Regions from separate parts of the Homo sapiens genome. Here region 1 is linked to region 2. The links are contacts of gene promoters, found by promoter capture Hi-C in blood cells and fetal thymus (Javierre and others, 2016). All regions are on one chromosome and are shown on one strand. The core of a region is centred on a gene start or on the middle of the fragment in contact, and the rest is flanking DNA. Distances in the headings are between cores, read along the strand shown. Region 1 holds the start of RSRC2 (arginine and serine rich coiled-coil 2). Region 2 holds the start of POP5 (POP5 ribonuclease P/MRP subunit).

Evidence for each region. Contacts are between HindIII fragments. The CHiCAGO score rates a contact against its expected background, and 5 or more counts as called.
Region 1: a fragment that was not itself captured here is called in contact with the fragment with the promoter of POP5 in region 2 in 1 of 17 cell types (fetal thymus); the score reaches 5.4 in fetal thymus.

What each region holds. Positions count from the first base shown.
Region 1 is chr12:122,521,315-122,527,114 of GRCh38, forward strand. It overlaps RSRC2 (arginine and serine rich coiled-coil 2), which reads right to left and starts at 5,622. Exons shown (of 10, transcript NM_023012.6): 1 at 5,534-5,622; 2 at 829-985; 3 at 71-114. The coding sequence starts at 5,539. RefSeq lists an enhancer at 5,302-5,761. The HindIII fragment of the contact is 2,111 bases long and covers 3,496-5,606 here.
Region 2 is chr12:120,578,060-120,583,814 of GRCh38, forward strand. POP5 (POP5 ribonuclease P/MRP subunit) reads right to left here and starts at 3,343. Exons shown (of 5, transcript NM_015918.4): 1 at 3,284-3,343; 2 at 3,056-3,198; 3 at 1,715-1,864; 4 at 1,455-1,538; 5 at 705-1,353. The coding sequence starts at 3,303. The coding sequence ends at 1,259. The HindIII fragment of the contact is 2,825 bases long and covers 545-3,369 here.

The DNA.
Region 1 (5,800 bases), core at 3,301-5,800, 1.9 Mb after region 2:
CATACAAATCTTTCTACCAGACACTTTATAAGTATTTTAAAGTACCTATTCACTACAAAGTGTTAATTACCTCTTTGCTTCTGCTCCGGCTCCTGTGTTTTCTTCCTTCATTATCTGTGAATACACAAAAAAAATAATCACCATAAACAAAGTTGGAGAAACATTTCATCTTAAAAAACTCTTAATGCTGGAGAAAAATGACTCCCATTAGTCTTCTTCCAATGACTAATTTTTTCATGGCACGGGTGGGATTATTCTACATTAATACAACACACATGTGAAACAAATCAAGCAATCTGAGCAAACCAGGACATAAAGCAGCCTAGATACATCTTTTAAACGGTCATAGACTTTCAGTATTTTACATATATTCTGACCAGCCCATCTAGTTTCCTAGTCTACAGCAAATTCATAAGGGGGTTTAATAGAGAGAGGTAAGCCATTAAGAAAAATAAAAACTAAAGAAAATAAACAGGTTGAATTATATTTGATATGTTCCAACATGGTGAAACCCAGTCTCTACTAAAAATACAAAAATAAGCTAGGCGTGGTGGCGCACGCCTATAATCCCAGCTACTCAGGAGGCTGAGGCAGAAGAACTGCCTGAACCCAGCAGATGGAGGTTGCATTGGGCTGAGAGTGTGTCAATTTTTGTATTTTTGGTCCTGGCTCAGGTGATCTGCCTGCCTTGGCCTCCCAAAGTGCTGGCATTACAGGCTTGAGCCACCATGCCCAGCCAACAAACTAAATGTATGTGTCTTCTTATACAACAGGTCTACATATCTTATACAAATGCTGAGAGTTGTAACCACCTTTAAGAATTCATACCTGACTTTCGTTTTCTTTCTCTTGACCTTGATCGTGATCTTGAATAATGATGTTTTGAAGCTCTAGGAGAAACAGATACTTCTGACTGCTCTTTTTTCTTATCTCTATCTGGTGATGTCTTTTCTGGGGCTAGTCCATCTCGCTCTGTATCACTAGCCTAAAAGTTTAAAAACAAATGATTAAAGTTCTTAATTACATTTTAAATGTTTTCAATTTCTTAAAAGAGGGACAAAGGGAGGGAAGATAGCCCCCCACAATCAATAAATCAGAATGCCTGCTTTCCAAGTAACTAAATGTGCTTTGTACACTAATAAGGCTGAATGGCTTGAAATGACGAACCTGATACTAAAGCAAGACCTACATATTTAGACTGATGTATCTTTAATTTTCTAACGATGATTTGTATAACTTTTAAAACATGGGGTGGGGTGGGGGAGGAATAAGGGCTCCAAGTAGTTCTAATAAGCATTCAAGCAGAGAAAATAGTCCTTTTTAGATGTGTGAATGCATTTAGCTGACTTTACCAATACTTTTAAATTAGCATACATGTCAAACATCAAAAATGAGTTGTTAAAGCTTAAAGATACTCAAGACGATAAAATCTTAAAACAATGCCCTAAGAATATTATAAAATAATAAACAGAAAATTAACTTACCTAAGTGAGAACCTCATCTTAATGTCATTAACCCTCTTTAATGAAAACAGCCCCTTGGCACAGTGCTGCTGCAAAATATGGTCTGCCTCTCCTCACATGTGCTCTGGGCTATGAAAACATTAAGTTGTTTCTGCTTTAAAGCATTTTATAAGTAATTATTACAATATAAATTTTACAAGTTTCAACTAATGCAGAAGGTAGACAATGCTCGGCTATCTGACCAGAGAAGATAACATGAAAATAAAATAATTGATACACCTGGGGAATTGATTACTTAGGAAGGGTTGGCAAGCTATGGTCCTCATTCTGTTTCTGTATGGCCTTGAGCTAGGAATGGTTTTTTACGTTTTTTAAAACTATTTTAGGCATATTTAATAAATAACTTCAGTAAATAGCACTGTAAAGACTGAACTGTTAAAACTAAAGGCACTTAAAACGCCAGTGTTGTGGCTCATGCCTGTAATCCTAGCACTTTGGGAGGTTGAGGCAGGCGGATAACCTGAGGTCAGGAGTTTGAGACCAGCCTAGCCAACATGGTAAAACCCTGCTTCTACTAAAAACACAAAAATTAGCCAAGAGTGGTGGGGCGTGCCTGTAATCCCAGCAACTCAGGAGGTTGAGACAGGAGAATGGCTTGAACCCATGAGGCAGACGTTGAAGTGAGCTAAGATTGCGCCACTGCCCCTCCAGCCTGGGAAAGAATGTGACAGAGACTGCACATGGCCCACAAAGCCAAAAATATTTACCGTCTGGCCCTTTACAGAAACAGTTTATGGACTTTTCACGTATAACATCAAACGGAATCTGGATTGAATAAATAGGGAATCGATAGTCTTCAGCAGGAGGAATCACATTAGAGAACTTCCTCCTTTAGGAAAGTTAGTCCAGAAAATGAATACCAAATATCAAGTACAATAAATGGGGGTATTGTATTTTAACAAATTTTAAACAAGTATCAAGTACAATAAATGGGTGTATTGTACTTTAATAAATGAAGTTGTGAGAGGTCGAGTTACTTCAACAAGTATTTACTAAGGGTCAAAAATGTGCCAAAACCAATGCTAGACTTAGGGAATAAAATGATAAATTAAAAACAGAAAGGTTTTGCAGTTCAATTATGAGATGAAAGACATAAATTACGTGTTATTCCTCTAACAATGGCACAAAAAGAACAGTAAGAAATTAACTACCAGGGAGGCTCTCATGCCAGCATATTGTATATGTACTTATTTCTCCAGTCTGGGTGACTTCTGGAACCATAAAATTTTTATGCTGAAAGGTTTTCACCCCTTAGAATAGAGTTCAACTTTCTCGTTTCACAGATGAGATCCAGCAACATTAGCTGACTTGCTTAAAATGATACTGCATCTCCGTATCTTTACTGTTTACTACTAATAAATAATGCTGTATCATTAAGGATGATTCTGATTTTTCACAATGAATTCTGGACACTTTTTTTTTTCATCGTTATCCTTGAGGACTATTTCAGACTCATTTATTACTTGCTGAGTGTTTGTACAGCTTACACTTGGTAAACAGAAGTGATCTCGAAAATTTTAAGCACCGCTATTACTTCTCTCAGTTGCACGACACTTTTGCCAGAGACAGAATTCCTTAACTAGTGGCAAATCCCATTTACTTTTGCAGAGAACAAGACTAGAATCGAAAACAACCTTCTCATGGAAAATCTAGTGCTTAGCCTAGGCAGTTTTCAGGCAATGGTTTATCTAACTTTAACTTCATGCTTAACATCACAAAGCTGGACAACAGAGAAACCTCCCTGTGACATAGGCTAACTTAAACTTACATCATCAACCATTTTCATCTGTAAAATATACTACAGAGCAACAACAAAAACCATCTTAACACTAAACAAATAGGAATGATAGGTGGTCATTGAGGCCATGGAAAACTTTTATTTCCCTGAGGATATTTTATAGTAGCATAATACAGGTATCCAGGAAAAAAACCTACCAAAAACTGAGTATTAAAATTGCTCTGAAATTTTCTAAGCTTTAATTTAGTACTAATCTATGTGTACACATAAACGTTAACTGCAAAACAGCCTTCTATTCCAGCAGTGGCTCTACGAGGTAGCCACTTTGGTTTCTTATAATTTACATTTTGTTGCAAACTCTAATAACGGCTCGAAACATAGACAAATCTTTTTCCACTGCGAAGGAGGTAAGCACTGGATTGAATACTAGGTCACTTCTCTAGGGGACTGTCTTTTTATTGAACAAGGCACGGCATAAATAAATGTTTAAATTCACTTTTTAAAATACTAGAACCCGGCCGGGCGCGGTGGCTCACTCCTGTAATCCCAGCACTTTGGGAGGCCGAGGCGGGTGGATCATCTGAGGTCAGGAGTTCGAGACCAGCCTGGCCGACGTGGTGAAACCCCGTCTCTACCAAAAATATAAAAAAATTAGCCGGGTGTGGTGGTGGGCGCCTGTAATCCCAGCTACTCGGGAGTCTGAGGCAGGAGAATCGCTTGAACCCGGGAGGCGGAGGTTGCAGTGAGCCAAGATCGCGCCATCGCACTCCAGCCTGGGCGACAAGAGCAAAACTCCGTCTCGAAAAAATACAAAAAAACCTGCAACCCAAGAAAAATAGTATTACTCTTTAAGTATACTGAGGCCCAAAACACTAAACAAAGGAAGACAGTAAAAGAAACGGGTTTAAACTCAATCACCTAAATAATAGAGGGGTATGGGGGAAAAAGAAAATCATCTGCCTAATCCCAGGCATTCCAATCGTTAGGAAGAGCAAACTTTAAAACTATCACTATGTTTAAGAGTCATAATTATTATCGAAAATGATGTAATTTTTTAGTCAGTAAAAAGGAATGCAAAATCTTTACATTTTCCTTTTAACGGAATAAAAATGAGGTAAGCACAAAATAATGTGGATCCGTCAGAATTGGGTATCTTATACACACGCAGGCTTATTGTTCAGAATAGATAATTTACGAACTGTAGCTCCTCTGGGGTCAACGAAGAGTTTTTTTTTTTTTTTTTTTTTTTTTTTTTTTTTTTTTTGAGACGGAGTCTCGCTCTGTCACCCAGGCTGGAGTGCAGTGGCGGGATCTCGGTTCACTGCAAGCTCCGCCTCCCGGGTTCACGCCATTCTCCTGCCTCAGCCTCCCAAGTAGCTGGGACTACAGGCGTCCGCCACTACGCCCGGCTAATTTTTTTGTATTTTTAGTAGAGACAGGGTTTCACCGTTTTAGCCGGGATGGTCTCGATCTCCTGACCTCGTGATCCGCCCGCCTCGGCCTCCCAAAGTGCTGGGATTACAGGCGTGAGCCACCGCGCCCGGCCAACGAAGGGTTTAAATTTAAAGGAACAAGGTCAGTGACAAGACTTAACTGTAACGCTTCTCGGACTTCAAATTGATTACATCACGGGCCACTTCGGAAACCGCGCATCAGTCAGAATTGGTAGTTCCACAACCTTTTAAGTTGAATTTTCACTCCCTTTCAGCAATACCTTCCTAGCTCGTTAATACACAATAATAAGGTTTACACGGACGAACACTAATTGAAATTATGCAACTAGAAGCATCTCATTGAGCGTACAAAAAAAAAAATAGCTACAAGTCGCTCTCTTCTCCCACACTACCCTTTACAGACACTGCCTTTTTGACCCAATACTTTTCAGAGACCACTCCTGATCGTCTTTCTCTTCCCCAGCCCCTTTCTCCACCGCAAATTCTCAGGCCCTAAAAAAAACTTAGAATAAATCACTAGCCAGGGTGAATAAGCGAAAATGGAGGAAGTTCAGTGAGGCGAAAGGAACGTAGGGTTGGGGAAGAGAGGAGGAAAGTTCTGGAAAAAAAAAGGCACTCCCTGCGGCTCCCCACCCCCACCAACACCGCCTTACTTCCCCCTCCCTACAGCAGGCAGCCATGATGGCGGGCGCAGAAGAAGGCCGCGGCGCCATTTTGTCTACACACATACACACGAACAAGGTTCTGGGAGCCGTTCACCCACTGTTGGAACGTAGCAGAAAAATATCCCTGGCTTTAAACTCAGATTCGGTACCTACCGCCATAGTTCAGAGTCCCGGCCGCTAGAGCGGCGCCTCCACTTGTCGCTTTCAACAGTACCGGCCGCTCCGAAGCTTCGCCTCAGACTAAATCGCTCGCGCGAGAGACCCGGATGGCACAAAGGCGAGGAGGCCCGGCGCGTCGCACAGCTTGCTGGGAGAAAAAGGGGCGGTAACAAAAGTTTCTATAACAACGCAATTCGAGGCGGTGATTGGGTGTTCTTTCATAGGGGAGTGTAAAGACCGTGAAGAGGGCGGGGCCAAGAA
Region 2 (5,755 bases), core at 2,093-4,592:
GCTACATGACCATGCAGTAATGATGTCAGATGAGGCCAGCACCCGCGCCCCCCCCAACTGCAAAGGTTGCATTTTTTGTTTGAGACAGAGTCTCGCTCTAGCCCAGGCTGCAGTACAGTAGTGGGATCTCAGCTCACTGCAAGCTCTGCCTCCCGGGTTCACGCCATTCTCCTGCCTCAGCCTCCTGAGTACCTGAGATTACAGGCACCCACCACCATGCCCAGCTAATTTTTTGTATTTTTAGTGGAGACAGGGTTTCACTGCGTTAGACGGGATGGTCTTGATCTCCTGACCTTGTGATCTGGCCGCCTCAGCCTCCCAAAGTGCTGGGATTACAGGTGTGAGCCACTGCGCCCGGCCCAAAGTTGTATTTTTTAAGTTACCTGATTAACTATTGGCAAGGAATCTGGTATCTGTAAGACCCTGTGGTTCAGTACTGAGATGGGCTGTAGATCTCTGCCAGTTCAGTTGCTGTGTCTCAACTAATATTTCTATTCCAAATGACTTGGCTTGCTTAGGGCCCATCATGGGGCCGGGGGTACAAAGCTTCAGGTAGAAGGCTAAGTATTGAAAATTTAGGCCAGGCACAGTGGCTCACCCTTTAATCCCAGCACTTTTGGAGGCCAAGGTAGGCCGATCACTTGAGGCCAGGAGTTCAACAGCAGCCTGGCCAACATGGCAAAACCCCGTCTCTACTAAAAATACAAAAATTAGCCAGACGTGGTGGTGCACGTCTGTAATCCCAGTTACTTGGAAGGCTGAGGTGGGAGAATTGCTTGAACCCAGGAGGCGGAGGTTGCAGTGAGCCGATACTGGGCCACTACACTCCAGCCTGGGTGATAGACTGAGACTGTCTCAAAAAAAAAAGTTTAACTAGTACCACATAGGGAGTCAGTCTTCCCACCAAGGCTAGGGATAGAGAGAGAACAGAGACTTGGCCAAGCATGGACTCCATAAGCCCTTTCTGTAATATAAGTATGCTAAATGCCACGGAAACCAGATACATTTATTAAATCTACTCTTAGCCAAGCAATAAAGATGTCTACAGAGTTCACAACCTGCAACACTTCACCAGGGAATGCTAGGTAAAGGCAACTTCAGTTTAACTGAGTACTCCATTTCAAGTGGGTAATGTCTGCTGGTTGGCAGCTATCCAGTTTGGAAAACTGTGGAAGATGCTGTTGCTACCCAGATTGTTCTGTTCAACAAGTGGGCCTGAAGCCTGAGCAGTGTAGCCAGCTGTGTGGGGAGCAGAGGTTCACTCCATTGCTTCTGCAGCCTCCTCACCTGACTCCTCCTCCTCCTCTAATAAGCAGCTTCTTGTCACAGACTTCTGGATAGCTTCCCGCTCTCCTGGAGAAGGCAGATAACAGGGATGAAAGATATCTTTGGGAGTGATTTCTTCAGCTTAAGGTCAGTCACTGCTCAGTGGGCACTGGGCTAGTGTTGCTTACCTTCATCAGTGCAGTTCTGCAACAAGATCAACAGCTGTCTCCTGTTGTACTGAATTAGGAACTTCTGACATGTTCTTATTGTACCTGGCATATGAGTTACTGTGGTCAACAGCTTGTGAAAGATCTCGACCTTACAGACTTTCAGAGGTAGGGGGAAGTGTCTTGTTAGCGGGACAGCAGCAAGACCCACCCACCAGTTTAGACTGAACTGTGAACGTGTCACCAATTGAAAATCAGTAGCCATACCACCTCACTCCTACCTCCCACATGTAATGTGTTGAAAAAGCATGGGTAACGGTGTCCTTTGTTCTCCAAGTATGTGATGAAGGGAAGAGCTGACCACACAAGCTGATAGAATTCTTTTCTGCATCGAAGTAGCACTATTCCAGTATAGGCATTGAGATATCGAACTACAACAGGAAAGAAAAATCATTTTGGAAAACTTTTGCTCTGTGTGGTGGCTCACGCCTGTAATCCCAGCACTTTGGGAGGCTGAGGCGGGCAGATCACTTTAAGTCAGGAGTTCGAGGCCAGCCTGGCCAACATGATGAAACCCCGTCTCTACTAAAAATACAAAAATTAGCTGGGTGTGGTGGTGCGCACCTGTAATTCCAGCCACTCAGGAGGCTGAGGCATGAGAATCGCCTGAACCCAGGAGGCAGAGGCAGCAATGACCCCCGATCTCGCTGCTGCACTCCAGCAGCCTGGGCAACAGCCAGACTGTCTCGAAAAAAGGAAAACTTTGGAGTAACAGAGCCTACTATGTGCCAAAAGTATGTTGTAGGCAAGTGGCACGTAGATCTATCAGCGAGTAAAAGAGAAAAGCCAAAACACCCACTGTGTTGCACACCACTCAGAACTGGTGAATGAATTTAGAATTGAAAATGCTTTCTAATTCACTAGTTAATTCAATAAATAGGAGCAGGTAGGAGGCGATCCGTTTTAATTTAGGAAAAACCCCCACAAAACCCTTGCCTGAAAAACAGGCTGTTTTACTGCATTTGGGCTCCGTAATTATTGTAGCAGTCAGCTCTCAGTCTCACCTGACTTAGGAGAGTTAAGTCTATCTGCATTTAACTCTCCAGAAGTCAATCTCAAACAAGGTTAAAGTGGGAACTAATTTAAGTGGTGTGAAAGAAGGGCCCCTCTGTCCTAGCTCATCCTGTATTTACATATATTGACAATCATGTGTTCTGTACTTTACCAACTATTTAAGGGCTTTCCCGGAGTACTTTTGACAATTTTTTTCCATATGATGTTAATGTAATCGGTCATATAATAGCTCTTACTAGGAAGTATACACAGCTTCCCTCATTTAATTCTCTACCCTATCAAATTCAATCACAACCAATTACAGAAATTACCTGTCAAGCAGGTAAAAAGAGGCTTCTAGCTCAAAGCCCCACTGCCTTCGGGCCCCTCCTTTTAGCGCTCTGCTAATTTCGGACTCTCGCTTGGGGTCCCAGGCGCTTAAAGAGATACCTTACAAAAAACGGTGCACGGGCTTGGCCACTCGTGCCCCTTCTTTCTTCCTCCGGCGCCTGCCCCCTCCACATCCCGCCATCCTCCCGGGTTCCCCTCTTCCCCCAGCGCCCTTGCACCCGCGAAGCCGATGGAGCAGGCGGCTGCGCCGAAAGTTCCGTGCACCCTGGCGATCGTGTCCCGTACGAGGCTGCTCAGAACTCGGTCATCGAGGCTTAGGCGGCAGCGGGGGTCGTCAGACACCAGTTCGCAGAGCAGGTACCTGCGGCAGGCGAGAGGAAGGTGGACACTAGCGGGGCCGCGAGGACCCAGCAAGGCACTGGGAGGGTCTGGAAGGGAATGCTTACCTGTGCTTGAACCGCACCATGGCTGCCTCCGCGCTCTCCGGTCCGGCGTGCAAACCGGATGTGAATTCTGTCCGCTGCCAATGGGAAGCTTGCTTCCGCAGCCTTTCAGCCATTCAGAGAAGGAGACAGGATATTAGGGCGGAGCTAGAAAGTTGAGAGGCCGAAGTCTGTCAGCTCTCTCAAGCCCCGCCCAACTGCGTTTGTAAGCGCGCATGCGTCCTGCGGAGGGTCACTGACTAGTTTGAGGGCTGAACCCCGGGATGGAGCGCCTTGCAGCTGTAATGGATGGTTCTGTTGCACACTGAAGTTTACAATAGTGTGTAGGATGTAGCCGCTACCCTTGGGGCCCTGGGAACCTTGCACCACAGTTATGTATGCGAGTATATTCTCTCCCCAAGGTGAACGGTGGAGCTTTTGAGGGCAAGACCCTGCACCTCACAGCCCAGGCATTGACAAACGGGAAATCGGACTTTTATTTTCAGGTTTGAGCTCAGTTTAATTCTTCCATACAGCTAAATATGCTATTGCTGTTTGGGCCTTTCAGCAATCTTAGGGAGGCGAGTGTGCCGTCTCGTTTTTTGCTCGCAGAAACAATACGTGGTCATTGTATTTTCCATTTCCGTTTACCTTTTTTTTTTGACAGAAAAGCACAAAGAAGCAAATAAATTATAATCCCAGCACTGAGAGAGAATAACTGTTGTCGTGTAGTGTGTTTTCTTCTGTCATTTTCTCCCTGCGCCAGTGGTTCTCAAAGTGCCGTCTGGGGACCACTGAGATTTCCTAAATTCACTCGATTTGGGAGTCCCCGAAGTCAAAATTACTTTCATAATAATGCTAAGATGTTACTTGTCTTTTTCATTCTCTCTGAGTGAACAGTCAAGTTTTCCAGAGGCTGCTTGACGTGATGACGTCACTGCTCTAGGAATTGTGTATTGTTTTTTAAACGTTTCTCAACTTTAATGTCCATAGTAAATATAACCCACAAAACTAAAAGCTCTTGGGCACCCTCAGTAACGTGTGTAAAGGGGTCCTGAGACAGAGAAAACAGCTTGAGAACTATGCCCTCTGTTAAATTATGTTTTTTCTTTTATTTTTAAGTATTTTAAAAAAAATGTCTTATGGGGTATTACATAAAGTACATATTCTTAAGTGTATTCATCTCAATGAATTTTTACATATGGATAGACTTCTATAACCACCTCCAAGATTAAAATAAAGAGCATTTCCAGTATCCCAGAAGGTTCCCTGAGCCCTCTTCCAGTCAAATTGCTTACTGCTATCAGCCACTATTACCACTTCTACCCTGCTAGATTAATTTTGCCTGTTCTTAAACTTTATATAAATGCAGCCAGGAGGCTGGCTGCAACCTCTGCCTCCTGAGTTCAAGCGATTCTCCTGCCTCAGCCTCCCGAGTAGCTGGGATTACAGGCACCTGCCACCACGACCAGCTAATTTTTGTATTTATTTATTTAGTTTTTTGAGACGGAGTCTCACTCTGTTGCCCAAGCTGGAGCACGATCTCAGCTCACTGCAACCTCTGCCTCCTGGATTCAGGCGATTCTCCTGCCTCAGCCTCCCAAGTAGCTGGGACTACAGGTGTGTGCCACCACAACTGGCTAATTTTTGTATTTTTAGTAGGGACAGGGTTTCCCCATGTTGGCCAGGCTGGTCTTGAACTCCTGACCTCAGGTGATCCACCCACCTCGGCCTCCCAAAGTGCTGGGATTACAGGCGTGAGCTACCACGCCTGGCCATTTGGCTATATTTTCATGTCAGCTCTTCAGCGACAATACTGTTTTTTAGCTGTGCAGTATTGCATTGTTTGGACGTACCATTGTGAAGTTGGTCAGTATCCCTTTGGTAGACGTTTACATTATTTCTAGATTTTCTTGTTATACCCAATACTTTGATGCATGGCTTTGTAGCTTAGTCTTTATGCCCATCCCTGATTATTTGTAGAAGTGTCTTGGCCTTGGCTGGTCCTGTGAGGTCCGTAATGGGGGCAGCTTTCACAACCTATTTTTGCAAGATCTGGAATGAGTTCTGAATTTTCCCATCTCCCACTCTTCTTGGCCACCTTAAAGGAGGGATGTGGGGGAAGGTAGGGAAGAAAAGAATAGGAAGAGGGAACGCCGTGGCCCTGCCAAGGGACCAGTGACAGTGACGGCACTCCCCACCCAAGAACAACTTTTCACCAGAAAGTGTCTGCGACATCCTCCTTTGGCCAACAGGGGGCGCCAGAGGTCCGCAGTGCGCGGAGAGAGCAAGACACCCCCAACTCCTGAGCGCTCCACCCCTCATAGAAATTTCACTCCTCCCAGCCTTCATTTCAACAGCAATGCTTCGCCCATTTTATAGATGCAGTTGGGGCTCAGACCAAAGCCTCGTATCCAGTTAGGAGCAGGATCAGAATTCGAACCCAAAGCCAGCTGACTCCTTGTTCTGGTCAACACGGTTGGTGCTCTCCCGTGC